3 separate regions of the Homo sapiens genome follow, and all the other regions are linked to region 3. The links are contacts of gene promoters, found by promoter capture Hi-C in blood cells and fetal thymus (Javierre and others, 2016). All regions are on one chromosome and are shown on one strand. The core of a region is centred on a gene start or on the middle of the fragment in contact, and the rest is flanking DNA. Distances in the headings are between cores, read along the strand shown.

Evidence for each region. Contacts are between HindIII fragments. The CHiCAGO score rates a contact against its expected background, and 5 or more counts as called.
Region 1: a contact is called between a fragment that was not itself captured here and the fragment with the promoter of GPR17 in region 3, in 1 of 17 cell types (total B cells). The highest score is 6.8, in total B cells.
Region 2: a contact is called between the fragment with the promoter of AMMECR1L here and the fragment with the promoter of GPR17 in region 3, in 2 of 17 cell types (neutrophils and total CD8 T cells). The highest score is 6.2, in neutrophils.

The regions. Positions count from the first base shown.
Region 1 is chr2:127,501,586-127,505,855 of GRCh38, forward strand. It overlaps IWS1 (interacts with SUPT6H, CTD assembly factor 1), which reads right to left. Exons shown (of 14, transcript NM_017969.3): 3 at 3,099-4,167; 4 at 1,802-1,991; 5 at 1,230-1,287. Among named protein-coding and RNA genes, the nearest start is that of IWS1, 23 kb to the right of the region's middle. The HindIII fragment of the contact is 288 bases long and covers 2,643-2,930 here.
Region 2 is chr2:127,882,718-127,887,395 of GRCh38, forward strand. AMMECR1L (AMMECR1 like) reads right to left here and starts at 3,239. Exons shown (of 8, transcript NM_001199140.2): 1 at 3,093-3,239; 2 at 1,486-1,595. It overlaps LOC107985944 (a long non-coding RNA gene), which reads left to right and starts at 4,401. Exons shown (of 2, transcript XR_001739707.2): 1 at 4,401-4,678. It also overlaps the pseudogene LOC107985803. RefSeq lists enhancers at 3,110-3,705, 3,490-3,569, 3,580-3,839 and silencers at 3,130-3,179, 3,190-3,359, 4,070-4,119. The HindIII fragment of the contact is 4,247 bases long and covers 341-4,587 here.
Region 3 is chr2:127,644,590-127,649,419 of GRCh38, forward strand. It overlaps GPR17 (G protein-coupled receptor 17), which reads left to right and starts at 1,564. Exons shown (of 2, transcript NM_001161417.2): 1 at 1,564-1,655. All of the region lies in intron 4 of LIMS2 (LIM zinc finger domain containing 2), which reads right to left. RefSeq lists an enhancer at 4,371-4,830. The HindIII fragment of the contact is 22,539 bases long and covers 1-4,830 here.

The DNA of each region.
Region 1 (4,270 bases), core at 1,537-4,036, 140 kb before region 3:
CTTCTGTAATACTGTATCTTGAAGCTTCATTCCAGATCTCTCCTTCTAAGCCATCTTCCAGTTCACTTATTTTCAAGTATGTCTAATCTGATGCTAAACTCATCCACTAAGTTTTCTGTTTTCCCCACCCCCTCCCACCCCATTTTTCTTTTCAAACAGGGCCTCACTATTTTACCCTGGCTGGTTTCGAACTTCTGGGCTCCAGCTACCCCCAAGCCTCAGCCCCCCGAGTAACTGGGACTACCAGCTACTTGCACCTACCTACCTGTACATCGAGTTTTTAATTTCAGTTACTGTATTTTTATAGTTCTAAAATTTCTACTTGGTTCTTTTCCAAATTTGCCTTCTTTTTGTTTGCTCTGACATTTTGAATCTTGTTTCTTATCTCCCTGAACATATTTAAGGTGGTATCTAAAATTCCTATATCTAGAGCCCTAAGTCTATTACTATTGTCATCATTACTGTTACCTTTTAATGTTATTTTTGTGTATAATAAGTACATATGAAAAACTTAAACCACTGTAATCTTATTTCTGAGACTGAGATTCTCTAGTCTGCCAGAAGATTCAAAGATGGCCTAAAATCTGAGCAAAGGCTATTTTATTTCCCCCTAAATCTTATGGTGCTGCTCTCTGAAGTCTCAATCCAGGGTATGGGGTTTACAAAGCCCCCTAACCTCAATAGGCCCCGAACTCTAAATTTTGTCCCCAAGCCTTGAGGCTGTCAAAAATATGAGTAGCCTCTCAGCCTGACAGGCAAACACCCCCACAGAAAAAGCACTTCTAAACACTGAATTACCACTTTAGGTTTCTCTTGGCTTAGTAATTCTTTGCTACTTTGTTCCTAGATAATGAGCAGATTTCTATATATTTTTGTCTAGCTTTTCTAGTTGTGCTTGGCAGAGGGGTTAGTCCAAATCACCTAGAATGCCACTGTGAAAATCGGAAGTTCCCTAATTATTGTGAATCTTGCCCTTTAGCATTATAAAGTGACTTTCTTTGTCTCAAAGTGTCCCTTCCCCCTTAATTCAATTTTGCCCATTAGCTTCCTTTTATGTCTTTGTATATACGCTTTCATTTTACTTCCTGAATCCCTCTTCTAGATTTTTATCTTGAATACATCATAATTGTTTATTCCTACTTATTAGAATCATCTATAATGGTATCACTGCCATAAAAACACCAAAAAAAAGCACAATCAAGGAGGAAATATTTCCATCTTATACTTACTGTAAATTCTTCTTCCTCTTCATCACCAGATTCTCCAAATATGTCTGCAATAAGATTTCTAGAAAGTAGACAAATGTAAAAACATTCATTTGCTTTATCCTCATTTGCATAGGAACCATTTTTTAAAAAATAGAATTTATGTACAGTAAAATGTGCAGATCTTCAGTGTTCAGTTCAATGAGTTTTAACAAATATATACACTCATGTAACCAGCACCCTATACACTCATGTAGCCTCCCCAGAAAGTCCTCTCATGGCCCCTTCTAGCTGGTCCCCAATATCAACATCCTAGAAACAACTGCCACCTTGACTTCCAACACCACAGATAAATTTTGCCTACTGAACTTCATGTAAATGGAATCATATATGTCCTCTTTGCTTTCTTTCACTTAACATGTTAATTCTGAGATGAATTCTGAGATTCACCCACATTGTAGTGTGTTCAGTTCAGGAACTAAAATACTAAATCCCCAAAGACATGCAATTAGGCAGGACATATTGTATTATAACACAGACCCCTCTCTACTGCCTAATTAAGAACCCCTGAAAACTCATGTTATACTGTCACTTACTCTTCTTCATTGCCTGACTCACTGTCACTCCCAAACAGATCCTTCTCTTCATTTTTCTTATCAGACAATTCTTTCCCAGCTTCTTCCTCACTGTCAGATGCTATGGTCTTCTCTCTTTTGCCTGACTTGTCTGATACAGCATCACTGTCAGAGTCATCTGCATCAGAGACAACACGACTCTTCTTTGCTGCTGTTGAAAAAGAAAATCATCATTAATTTTATTTTATCACAGCCATTGTATTACTAAGCATAACAGGTGCTTTAAGATGGCAGTATACAGCAAAAATAAATAAATAAATAAATAAATAAATAAATAAATAAAATAAAATCAGAGGGCCTCCTGACACATGGTTTAGAATTTTTAAAATAACTAAATGGCTCATTCAGAGTCATCTTACAAATTATCTGTTATTTTGCTTAAGAAAAACTGGCCAAAAGATGAAGAAAGATATCATCAATATAAAAGCAGCCACCTTTCCTTTTGGGAAATCGAGAAAATTAAAACTAGATTGATGGGCAAAACTGGCATCCTTTCTATGTTGCCTAGTAGTAACTGAACTAAAAAGGACTACATATTTCTTTCTAGGAATAGTCTCCATGTTCCTCTATCATTGCTGGTCAGTTTGAAATTTCTCATCTCCCTTAACAAATTGACAGCATGTCTGGTACCTTTTCCTTCTCCTATAAGAACTGTGAGGTTATAATGAAATATGTCTTTTCCAAAAAAGATAAGTTTCATAAAAAAGTAGACAAGTAATACTATCTGTGCAAATGGAGTCTTAGATAGCAGAGACTGAAACACTCTGGAGAGAGATGGTGTCTCTAAATAGAATCCTCTCAAAGCTTCCCTGTATCTGAATATTCAACAATGTTTAACAAATGAAGAGATGTACCTGTGGGAGCTGTTACTGTTTGGATGGGATCTAGTGAACTAAGTGTCAAAGAGACCCACAGCTAACAATTAATACAGTTAGGGGTTTTTATGTAAACGTATTTCTTTGAAACATTACCTCTTCCAGTTTTAAAAAAAAAAAACAGTATTTTATATTCCTATTGACATGTGGTTTATCACTTTGAGGCAGTCAGAGATTAATATGTGCTAATAGAACTCCAAGGAAACTTACTATTAAGCTTAGCTAATGATAACCAGGGGAAATGAGTGTCCTACTGATATTTTAGAATATTAAGCTGAATAACAGAACACAGATCTGACATACCAAGAGGATACAATGTTCCACAGTTACAAGCTTAGACAATGAATAAAGCCATTGATAAACAGCCCAAGGTAACTCCTTACATGCTTTCTCTTCATCTTCACTATCAGAAAGCACAGCAGCTTTTCTCTTCGCTACTTTCTCCTCCTCACCCTCTTTTTCATCTTCATCACTGTCCATTTTTTGCTTTTTGTGTTCTTCCTCCTCACTATCAGAACTGTGAAACTTTTTTCTGTCCATATGGCTGTCTGAATGGAAGGAGTCATTCTGCATTTCTGTATCCTCTCCCTTATTCTCCCTGTCGCTGTCATCATCTGACTCTGGCTTCTGTTTGTGTCTGGACGCATCCTCAGTTTCTGAGTCACTGGCAGGCCCCTTCTGAGGCCCCTCACTCTCAGAGTCACTGACTCGGGGTTTGGGTAGCTCCTCATTTTCCGAATCACTGGCCTGGTTCCTTGGGGGATCCTCACTTTCCGAATCACTGATTCGGGGTTTGGGAAGCTCTTCATTTTCTGAGTCACTGGCCTGGTGCCTCGGAGGGTCCTCACTTTCTGAGTCACTGATACGAGGTTTGGGAAGCTCCTCATTTTCAGAGTCACTGGCCTGGTGCCTTGGGGGTTCCTCACTTTCTGAATCACTGACCTGAGGTTTAGGAAGCTCCTCACTTTCAGAATCACTCATTCGAGGTTTGGGAGGCTCCTCATTTTCGGAGTCACTGGCTTGGTGCCTTGGGGGTTCCTCACTCTCAGAGTCACTGATTTGAGGTTTTAGAGCATCTTCTGTTTCAGAGTCACTAGCAGGACTCTTCTGGAGCTCCTCAATCTCAGAATCACTGGCGGGATGCTTCCCAACATCTTCGTTTTCTGAGTCACTTGCATGCCCATTAAGAAGTTCCTCATTTTCAGAGTCACTACCAGGTAATTTCCTGGTCTCTTCACTCTCAGAGTCGCTCCCATGCTGATTGACATCCTCATTTTCAGAATCGCTTGCAGGAGGCTCTGCACGTTCCTCAGATTCAGAGTCGCTGTCCTTTTGCCTGTGAAGCTCCTCACTTTCAGAGTCACTAGCATTAAGATTTAAGGGCTCATCGTTCTCAGAGTCTGTCACATGATGTCCTTTGGGGAGGCCATCTTCTCGATCACTAGTTTCATTCTGAAAAATAAAGTGAGAAAAAATTAGGAAAGTGCAAAAAAAAAAAAACCATTAATAATAAAACATTAAATTTTTTCTGTGATTTTTTTAAAATACAGGATTA
Region 2 (4,678 bases), core at 1,989-4,488, 240 kb after region 3:
CAAGTAGCTGGGACCACCGCCATGCACCACCACACTCGGCCAATTTTTAAAAATTTTTTCCTTTTGTAGAGACAGGGTCTCCTTATGTTACTAAGCTGGTTTTGAACTTCTGGCTTCAAGCAATCCTCCTGCCTTGGCTTCCCAGTTTTGGGATTTACACAGGCATGAGTGACTGTGCCCAGAATTTTTTTTTTTTTTTTTTTTTTAAAGAGATGAAGTCTTGCTATGCTGCCCAGGCTGAAGTGGCTATTTACAGGGCTCAAGCGATCCTCCTGCCTCAGCTTCTCAAGTTGCTGGGGCTACAGATGCACGCCACCATGCCTGGCAACAATTGTTTTTAAGCTTTATAGATTTTTAAAAACATAAAGAACTGCAAATTTCTTTTCTTTTTTTTTTTTTAGACAGAGTCTCGCTCTGTCGTCAGGCTGGAGTACAGTGGCATGATCTCAGCTCACTGCAACCTCCACCTCCCGGGTTCAAGCGATTCTCCTGCCTCAGCCTCCCAAGTAGCTGAGGACTACAGGCACATGCCACCACACCTGGCTAATTTTTGTATTTTCAGTAGAGACGGGGTTTCACCATGTTGGCCAGGATGTCTTGATCTCTTGACCTCGTTATCCACCTGCCTCGGCCTCCCAAAGTGCTGGGATTACAGGCTTGAGCCACTGCGCCTGGCCAGAACTATACATTTTCATTTCAACTTAGCTTAAAGAAAAACATGTACCTAGGAGTCAAAACTCTTTTCACCTCCCCTCTGTTTTCTATGTGACCTGTAGCAAGGTGCCACATTTTTCTGGGCCTCAGTTCTTTCATTTGTAAAATAAAAACATTTATCCCCTGTGTCCCTCAGAGGGGCTGGGAGGCTTCACCAAGAAGTGAAACACTCTGAAAACTCTCTCCTAAGTGTTAGCATACTATCATTAATCAACTCAAGAGGGCACAGCAGTCATAATTTTTCCCCAGAACTTTGTTTCAAGTTTACAGTGAAAAATTTTAATTATCTTCAAATCTGTGATGGGATTTTCAAGAAAATATCTTCACTATTGCAAATTTAGGACAAAATGTTCCAAAAGTCTCTCAGGACTGAAACTATAGAAAAGAGAACCAATAATTGACTTTGATCAGGAACTGCATTAACCTCTGAGTTAATTACCCTAAAACTTAAGACAACCTCTTTGGTTGTATTGAGAAACTCATTTGGGAAGGGTGAGGAGCCAGACCTTACAAACTAGAAATATAAAGGAAAGATCATGCCACGCCACCACCTAGCTCACTCTAATGGGAGTATGAAAAACAAACTTGCCTTTGCATATTTAAATTATTTTAAAAGGGAACAAGCGGAAAAACTTCATCAACATTAGGACCCCCTCATGGAAGTAGAAAAATACAAATGAAAACACACCTACATCCCAAAATCCTAGCACATGCCTAAAATCAAAAACTACAACGATGCTCTACTCTAAATATGCCCAAGATAATACTCACTGAAAGCAGAAAGTTTGTATTGCCAGAGGAACAGCTACAACAGAGGAGGGGAGCTATTTTGTCTCTGGAATGAATTTTCTTCCTTCCGATTCCATTCCTTCTTCCTGTACCTAAGACGGAAATGCAGGTGCAGTGAACAAACACCCAGGTAGTGCAGAGGTAAGATAGATACGGTTTCTGAAAAATCACAACTCGACAGAGCAATTTCGGGGGGGTGGGGGGCACAGCAAATAGCTAGAGAACAGGCTCTCCTTATTTCAAAACCTTGCAAACTCTAAATCTGAGGCAGCCGTGAAGTCCCATGCCCTGAATCATCTCATCCTTAGCGTCATCAGCAAGAAGGGAGGACACTGAGAATCAAAGGTTTTATTTATTGAACTCGAGCATGAGACGCACATTAAAACTTCCCCACCACAGATGCAGAGCAAAAGTTGCTCTCAGGCCAGAAGAGACCATTTAAAAGCTCTCCGCCGGTTTCAGAACACAAATAAATTTCCCAATCCTCTGCAAAGACAGAACTGAAGAATTACTGGACAGCACGCCAGAGGCAGGGACCTGAGGGCAGGCCATCTTGCTATGCCGGGAGGAGACGGTCACTGTTGCTAAGGGTCATCCATCCTTAGTCTCGAAGAAATCTCTTCCTGATCTCTTCACCAACTCTCCCCACTACTAGAGAATTGAGCTACTCCCAAAGATGTAAGTAAACAGGAGACTGTTTACATCTCCTGTGGGTGGGAGAGGCCCCACCCACTCTATCCTAGGAGAGGGCAGTGAAAGAGGATAAGGCCCAGAGGGATAAGGGTGAGGGAGCATGGCAAGGAGAGGAGTTCAGATCAGGACAGGGAATGTAGGAGGGCAAGGAGTGAAGGGCACAACCCACAGCCTGGGAAAGAGAGGCATGAAACCCAGCGTGTCAGGTGGACGGATCATGGAATGGGGGGCCAGCGGAGGTTAAGGAAGGAGGGCCCAAGAGTAGGGGTGCGAAAAAGAGAAGAGGAGGAGGAGAAAGTGCGCGTGTGAAGAGTGTTAAGAAAACGACAGGACAGAGCGGGGAGGGGAAAAGCGGGCCGAGGGACAGGGTGAAAGGTGAGAAACGAGGGTATGAGGAAAGAGGGTCCGGGGCGCTGGGGAGTTGGGGAGACGATGGAGCGACGGGTAGAGCAGCTTGGGCCGAGCCGCGGGGGTGGAATCCAGACGCCGGGCGGGGGAGGGGGCGGCGGGGCGGCGGGACGGTGGGTGGGGGCCACCAGGCGGCGCCGGAGACCACCAAACTTTACAGCGAGCGAGCCTGCTTCCTGGAGGGAGTGCAGACAAGGACCAGGAGCGGGAGCCGAGCCTCGCGGCCCGGGGCACGGCGCCGCCCGCCCCTCCCCGGCAGTGCCTCCCGACCCCCTGCCCTCCGCTGGGACATGGCCTGAGGCCCCGCCCGCCGCCCGGGACTCCTCCCCCCCGCTGCCCCCGGACCCTCGCCCCAGGACCGCGGGGTCTCTTCCCGGCCCCGCCGCCCGCCCCGGCGAGAACAGGCCCGGCGGGCAAGGCGGCGGCGGACCGAGGGAGGCCTGGCCCGGCAGCGGGGAGAAGGGTGCGGCGCAGCCCGAGTTTCCCACCTTTTCTCCTGGCCCAGACGCGGCTGGGGCGGACGGGACCTCTCGCGCTCTGCCTCCTCCTCTTGCTTCATGGAGCCATGCGCCTGGGTGGGGGCTCCCGAGAGAAGCTGGCCTGCGGGCGGGCCGGACGCGCTGCGCGGACGGGGCGGGGCGAAGGAGGCCGGCGGGCGGAGGAGGAAGCGGCGGGGCGGCGGCGGCGGCGGCGGCCGGGAAGAACTAGAGGTATTCCCCGGGCGGCTGGAGGACTGAGTCGAGCCGGGACCCGAGTCCTCCGGTATCCCAGCAGCCACCGGAGGCAGTGAGGTAATGGAGGAAGAATGTAGGGAGTCCTCCAGTGGACCACACTCCTTCTAGCGAGCCGCGGAAACCATAGAGATCAGGGCTCAGCCGGAGGGCCGGCCCACTGCTGTCACGTGGCCTCCATCCGTGCGCTTTATTGGCTGGTGCTGGCTTTACGGGGTTGAATTTTGGACGCTGCCTGCCATTCGTGGGACCGAGTTTCAGGCAGCTGGAATAAAGAGAGACATCGGGGGAAAGCCGCGAGAAGGCCAGCGTCCCTGGCTGGGAGCAGAGCTAGCCGAGTAGGGCGCCCGGCTGTCAAAACTGGCCGGCGCAGTGCACGCTGGGCCGCCCCGGAGCGGTCGCAGAGCCCGTCGGGAGTCGTAGTCCGGGACGGGCCCGCAGCATTGTCCGCGACGCAGCTCGGGATCCGCGTCGGGTTGTCGGCCGGGTTGCTGCCAGGCACCGTCGAGCGTTAGCCACCCAGCATTGAGCTGCCAGCGGCTGTTCTCCCTAAGCACCCTCGCTCACGTCGCCTCGCCTCGCCTCGCCTGACCGGCCGCAGCCTTGGATACCAGCCTTAAATCGAGCCGACTACGGCCCAGCCCCGCCCGCGGCGAAGTGCGCGGGGTTCGGTGCCAGCCGCTCGCCCCTGGCCGGGCCAGCCTCTTGATGCACCGGGGACGGGCGCGCCCATCCGACTCTTCGAGGGGCGGCAGGGCCCCATCTGTGTCTTTCGCTCTCGAGCCCCCAGCTAGAGTTGGCTTCAGCGGAATACCTACTGTGCAGGATTATTCAACAAGCCGATTGATCACATTCTTCAGCTCTAGCAGTGCAAAGGCTTCACTGAAAAAGAACATTACAAATTTTTTTTGAAAGAAATTTGGGGGTAAATTTAATTTTAAATACTGATTTTTGATAACATTTGATCTTATGACAGCATTTGTATTTTTAATTACAGATAGGATTACACTAAAAGTCATTTCTGACCTGCTCCCTTACCCTTATGGCTAAAATAAACTGCTAGGCCCTGAAGCAAAGGCGAGCCATGTTCTAGAGCAATGTCTTTCTTGTATTAAAATACGGCCCCATGCTCACATATAGGCTGTTTTGTGTTTTGCTTTTCTGTTGATGCACAAAGGAATCCTTGATATGTTTGTCCTCAAAGACCAAAGACAAGTATCTAGTAAAAAATGCAAATCATATCTAACAGTGAAGCTTTCCAGCAAAAACCTTCTGCTCTAGAATGCATAATTATGCGAGCATAAGATCTACTACTCTAGACTTTTAGCATAATTACCTATAGG
Region 3 (4,830 bases), core at 314-2,813:
CATTCTGGTGACTCCTCCTGAGCGTCAGGACAACACTCAACCCACGAGGAATTATTTCTGTCTCAAAGATGCAGGAATCAGCTCAACGCCTCAAAACTCCATCACCACGGTCAATGCCCTTGAAGCCATCGACAGTGATCACCCCAATAACAGAAGGTCTGTGAGCCCAGAAATGCCCTGCTCAGGGTGGTTAGCTTCAAGCCACCACCTTTCCAACCAGCCTGGGCCAGTTCTTCCAGACAGCCGCCTGCGGGCACAACAGGAAAGAGACCTGCGCCCCGGCTCAGACACCTCACACCCAGCTGGCTCTCAGGCCAGACAAACTGGGAAGCCCATCTCTCTTGAAGGAAGTCCAGATGGGAAACAGCTTCTCAACAGACCAGATCACAGCATCAGATCTAAAGGTGGCCTTCAGAATTCTTTTTCAGGTTGAATTAGGATCAAATCTAAGAATTCTAAATTCAAAATGCAGCAGAAAAACAAAACACACACACACACGGAGCCTAAGTTCTGGAGTGACATGTGCTTGGGTTCAAATCCTGGCTCTGTTGCTTCCTACTGTTTGTTGATGGGTGAGTTTCTTCATTTGCCTGAGCCTCAGTTTCCTTGTCTGTAAAATGGGGCAATAATCCCAGCTGCACAGGGTGATGTGAAGAGACAAATTTAAGACACTGCCCCTTAAATGCTAGCCACATACATACAGTTTTCAATGTTTAAACAACAAAATGTAAAGTCTTTTGAAACCAGGAAGGGTGATTTGGTTTCCCATGTTGCTGGATGTATCATTTTCAGAAAGACAGAGAGAAATGAACTTTGTTCACTCAGTCTCAGAGGCGGCCGCCGGCAGCATTCAAAGGCACCCCAGCCCGGAGCCACCCCAGGGAGGAGCCCCAGGCCAGCGGTCAGATTCATGGGCTTCCGTGCAGAAGGGGAGCTGCACCGGCGAGCACCCGGCCTCTGAGCTGAGCCGCATCCTCACGGACAGGACAGCGCCCCATTATGAGGCTCCTGCAGCTGTTCCTCGCTCCAGATAAAGGCCATGATTTATTCTGTGTGCCCAAATGGGGCCTCATTATACAGGGCAGGACACAAGGACCCTACAGCAAGTGTCCTCAAAGAGTCGCCTCTCACTCCGTGAGCAAGACTCCTCGGCCTCCCACCCTCCGTTCACAGGCCCCCTCCGCCGTCTGCGGGCGCAGGCCTGGGAGCGCCGCCTGTTGCCATGACAGCCGGCCCCTCCCTGCCCCCCATCAGTAGGAAATCATCCCCTTCTGAAACGTCCTGTTGTGTCCCTCAGCTCCAGCCCAAGCCCCCCACCCAGCCCCCGCCTGCTCTGAGTCTCTGAGACAGTCACACACTCAGACTATGTGGCCAAGCTGGGGGCGGGGGGCATGGGCTAGGGACACACTAGAATATTCACGCTCCGGTGGCAGCAGCAGCAGCAGCCAGAGGAGCAGCCCGACACAACAAGGGACCCCTCAGGAATGAAGCAGCCTTTCAGGGCCAGAGGGGCTGTGGTCTCCCTTCCTCTCCTTAAATAGCCAGCGTTCCACCCACAGCGGCAAGGAGCCCCCTGCCACCACCGACACCCACGGGCGGAGATCACCTGCTGCCCCGCAGACCCCTGTCCCTTCCTCCCGGACCAGCAGCTAGAGGTAAGGGGCAGGCTGGGTGGGGTGGACTGGGAGCCCAGGGCTAAGCAGAGGAAACACTCAGCGGGGAGCCCTGCCCAGGGAGACAGGCAGCAGCCTGTCTCGTCCCATCTCTTTGGTGATGGTCTGACCTGTGCATCGAAGGCTGACCACAGTCTGAATTCACAGCAGCCCACAAAGCGGTGTTTCGTCCCTCTGATGGGGGCTTGCAGAGGGGAAGTGGCTTGCCGGCAGTCCAGGCTGCAATGACAGCACCGCTGCCCCTAACCATTAGGCAGCCTTGACCCATAGAGGAGCCAGATGCCTGGGAGAGGGCTCGGGCCAGGGATGGAGTGGCGCTAATGCAAAGGAAACTGCCACCACCTGGCCATGGCGCTGCCACCACAGGCCCTCCCCGAGGCCACACATGCCCACCTGCCACCTCCACAGAGGCCTATGACCTGTCCTAGATGCTCGACTCACCCACAGCCACGGGACCCAACACTGCCCAGGCCCCGGCCCATGCCACGCCCTTTCCTCTTACGGACACCGGCTCGGTGGCCGTCTGACCAGTGAGTCGTGAGGAACCAGCGAGTCTAGACTGAAGTTTGTGTTTCTAAAGGGCAACAGAGAGTGAAGCGGGGCCCATCTCAGACCAAACTGCAACAATCAGTATCAGAACTCCTCAAACGGGGGACAGAAAGGGAGAAGAAACCTCAGCAAACCTGAAACCAACCAGAAAGCTGTTTAAAATGGAGTCTCAGTCCCAGAGAGAGCGAGGGGCACGCCCTTCGGCCCGGGCAGGAAGTGGAGGGCAGTGCCCAGGCTGAGGCCCCCGGGCTGGAGGCAGGAGGCACCACAGGCCCACCTGGTGCCATGAGATATGCCACCCCTGCCGTCACTCAGGGCCCTGAGCCCAGTAACACTCTGCCGTCACTGTCCTGAAACTCTTCCTTTTTGAGCAAGGGGCTGCACATTCTCATTTCATACATGGGCCCCTAAAATGAGGGAGTGGCCCCAGGGCCAGGAGGGGGTGCTGAGCCTGGGAGACAACTCCATGGCAAACTCTGAGACTGAGTCACACTCCCCACCCTGGCGGTCTTCCAGGGAGTGAGACCGTTTCCCCGGTCTCACTTCCAGCTCCAGGGCCAATGTCCCCTGGTCAAGTGACCTAAGACAAGTTAGCAGACACTCAGCCTTGACTCCCTAACCTGCAACATGGGGCTAAAACTGGTTTGAGCCAGCACAGGCAGGCCCCCACCATGCCAGGCAGAGTGGTCAGTCGTACCTATGAGCTGCTCTCTCGTGGGGCCAGGTGATGCCTGCACTGTGGGGCACAGCACAGGCCTGAGGGACAGCCTGGGGTGGAGGGCACCCACCTTGGCCCCTTCCCACCCCCAGGTTCTAACAAGGGCCCCTCACTCACTGGGCCCCCTCTCCTCTTCCAGTCTCCAGGGCCTCCCCGCACACACCTTCCTCCTCTCCTGCCAACCTGAAAACAGCACACCTGTGTGCCCCTCCCATCTACCATGGGCTGTCCTCTCTGCTTGCCCATGCGTCTGCCCTGGAGCCCTGTTCCTCCAGTCTCCGGGTCCTCACCCCCAGCACATGCAACACGACACCCTCAAAGTCATGGGCCCCCCTCCCCTGCCACCGTCCCACCGGTACCTGCTCCCTGTTCTCCCCTGCCTCACAGGCCCTGTCAAGGGCTGTGTTCCTCCCTCCTTTTACCTCTCCTCCACAGCCCCCTTCACAGCCCTCAGCCCTTCCCCAGGGCTTCAGCCAAGCCTGTCTCCCTCTCCCAAGCATCACTCACCCCGCCTTCTTCGGCCCTCAGCTCTCCGCCCTCACCGTGGTTTTAGCAGTCCTAGGGAAAGTGCCAGCCGAGACCAGCCAGACCAAGTCAGAGTACTGTGGAACCTGGATTCCTGGGGAATGGGGTCCCCATGAGGAACTCCACATTGGACTAAGAACAGACCCTGTTCCTGGAAGCAGCAGGAAACCATCTCTGGTGTTAGAACTTCAGGCATCTTGAAACACTCTGAAGCCGGGGGCAATCTTTTCAGGTAGGGGAACCTGCCTAGAGAAATAGCTAAAAGGTAATATTATTAGGTAGTTGCCCTCCCCTTTGCTTGAGGACATTGATGGCCAGGTGCTCGGGCCAGCCCTCACCCTCCATGTGAGGGCCACAGCAGCTGGCCACTCGCTCTCCTGAAGGAAGGGTGCGGCCCACCCTTCCCTAGGGCTAGGGCCACCACCATGCCTGCTTCTCCTCCATATGAGGATGGCTCCAGCCTCCTCCTCGAGGGGCTGCTGTGTCCATGAACAGTCACCATGCCCTCTCTGCCCCGTGCCACCAGCATCCTGAGACAGCCCTGTGGAATCAGTAAGAGGAGAGGGGCTGGGCGCAGTGACTCATGCCTGTAATCCCAGCACTTTGGGAGGCCAAGGAGCACTTTGGGAGGCCAAGGAGAGAGGATCACTTGAGCCCAGGAGTTTGAGACCAGCCTGGGCAACATGGCAAAACCGTCTCTACCAAAAAATACAAAAATTAGCCGGGTGTGGTGGTGTGCGCCTGTAGTCCCAGCTATTCAGGAGGTTGAGGTGGGAGGATCACTTGAGCCCTGGAGGTTGAGGCTGCAGTGAGCTGATTGCACCACTGCACTCCAGCCTGGGTGACAGAGGGAGACCTTGAAAAAGAGAAAGAAAAAAAGAAAAAAGAGAGGGAGGGGAGGGGAGGGGAGGGGGGGAGGGGAGGGAGGGGAGGGGAGGGAGGGGAGGGGAGGAAGGGGAGGGAGGGAGGAAAGAAAGAAAAAGAAAGAAAGAGAAAAGAAGAAAGGAAGGAAGGAAGGAAAAAGAAAAGAAAAAAAGAAAAAAGAAAAGAAAAAAGGAAAATAAAGAAAAGCAAGCAAACAAGCAAAGCGAAGTGAGAGAGAGAGGAAGGTAGGAAGGAAGGAAGGAAGGAAGGAAGGAAGGAAGGAAGGAAGGAAGGGCAGGGAGAAATGTGCAGAGTGAATTTGCTGCAGGCAGGACCCCGGCTGTTCGGTGCAGAGCCAGGCTCGCCCAGGATGAGGACCCTGCCAGGGCTGTGGCCCGTGCCTCCTCCCCTCCTGCTGCCACAATGGGCACAGGCAGGATGCCAGCTTCTCTTATGCAAACCTCTCTCCAGCCTCTGCTTCAGCCTGGCTGTGCAGGGTGG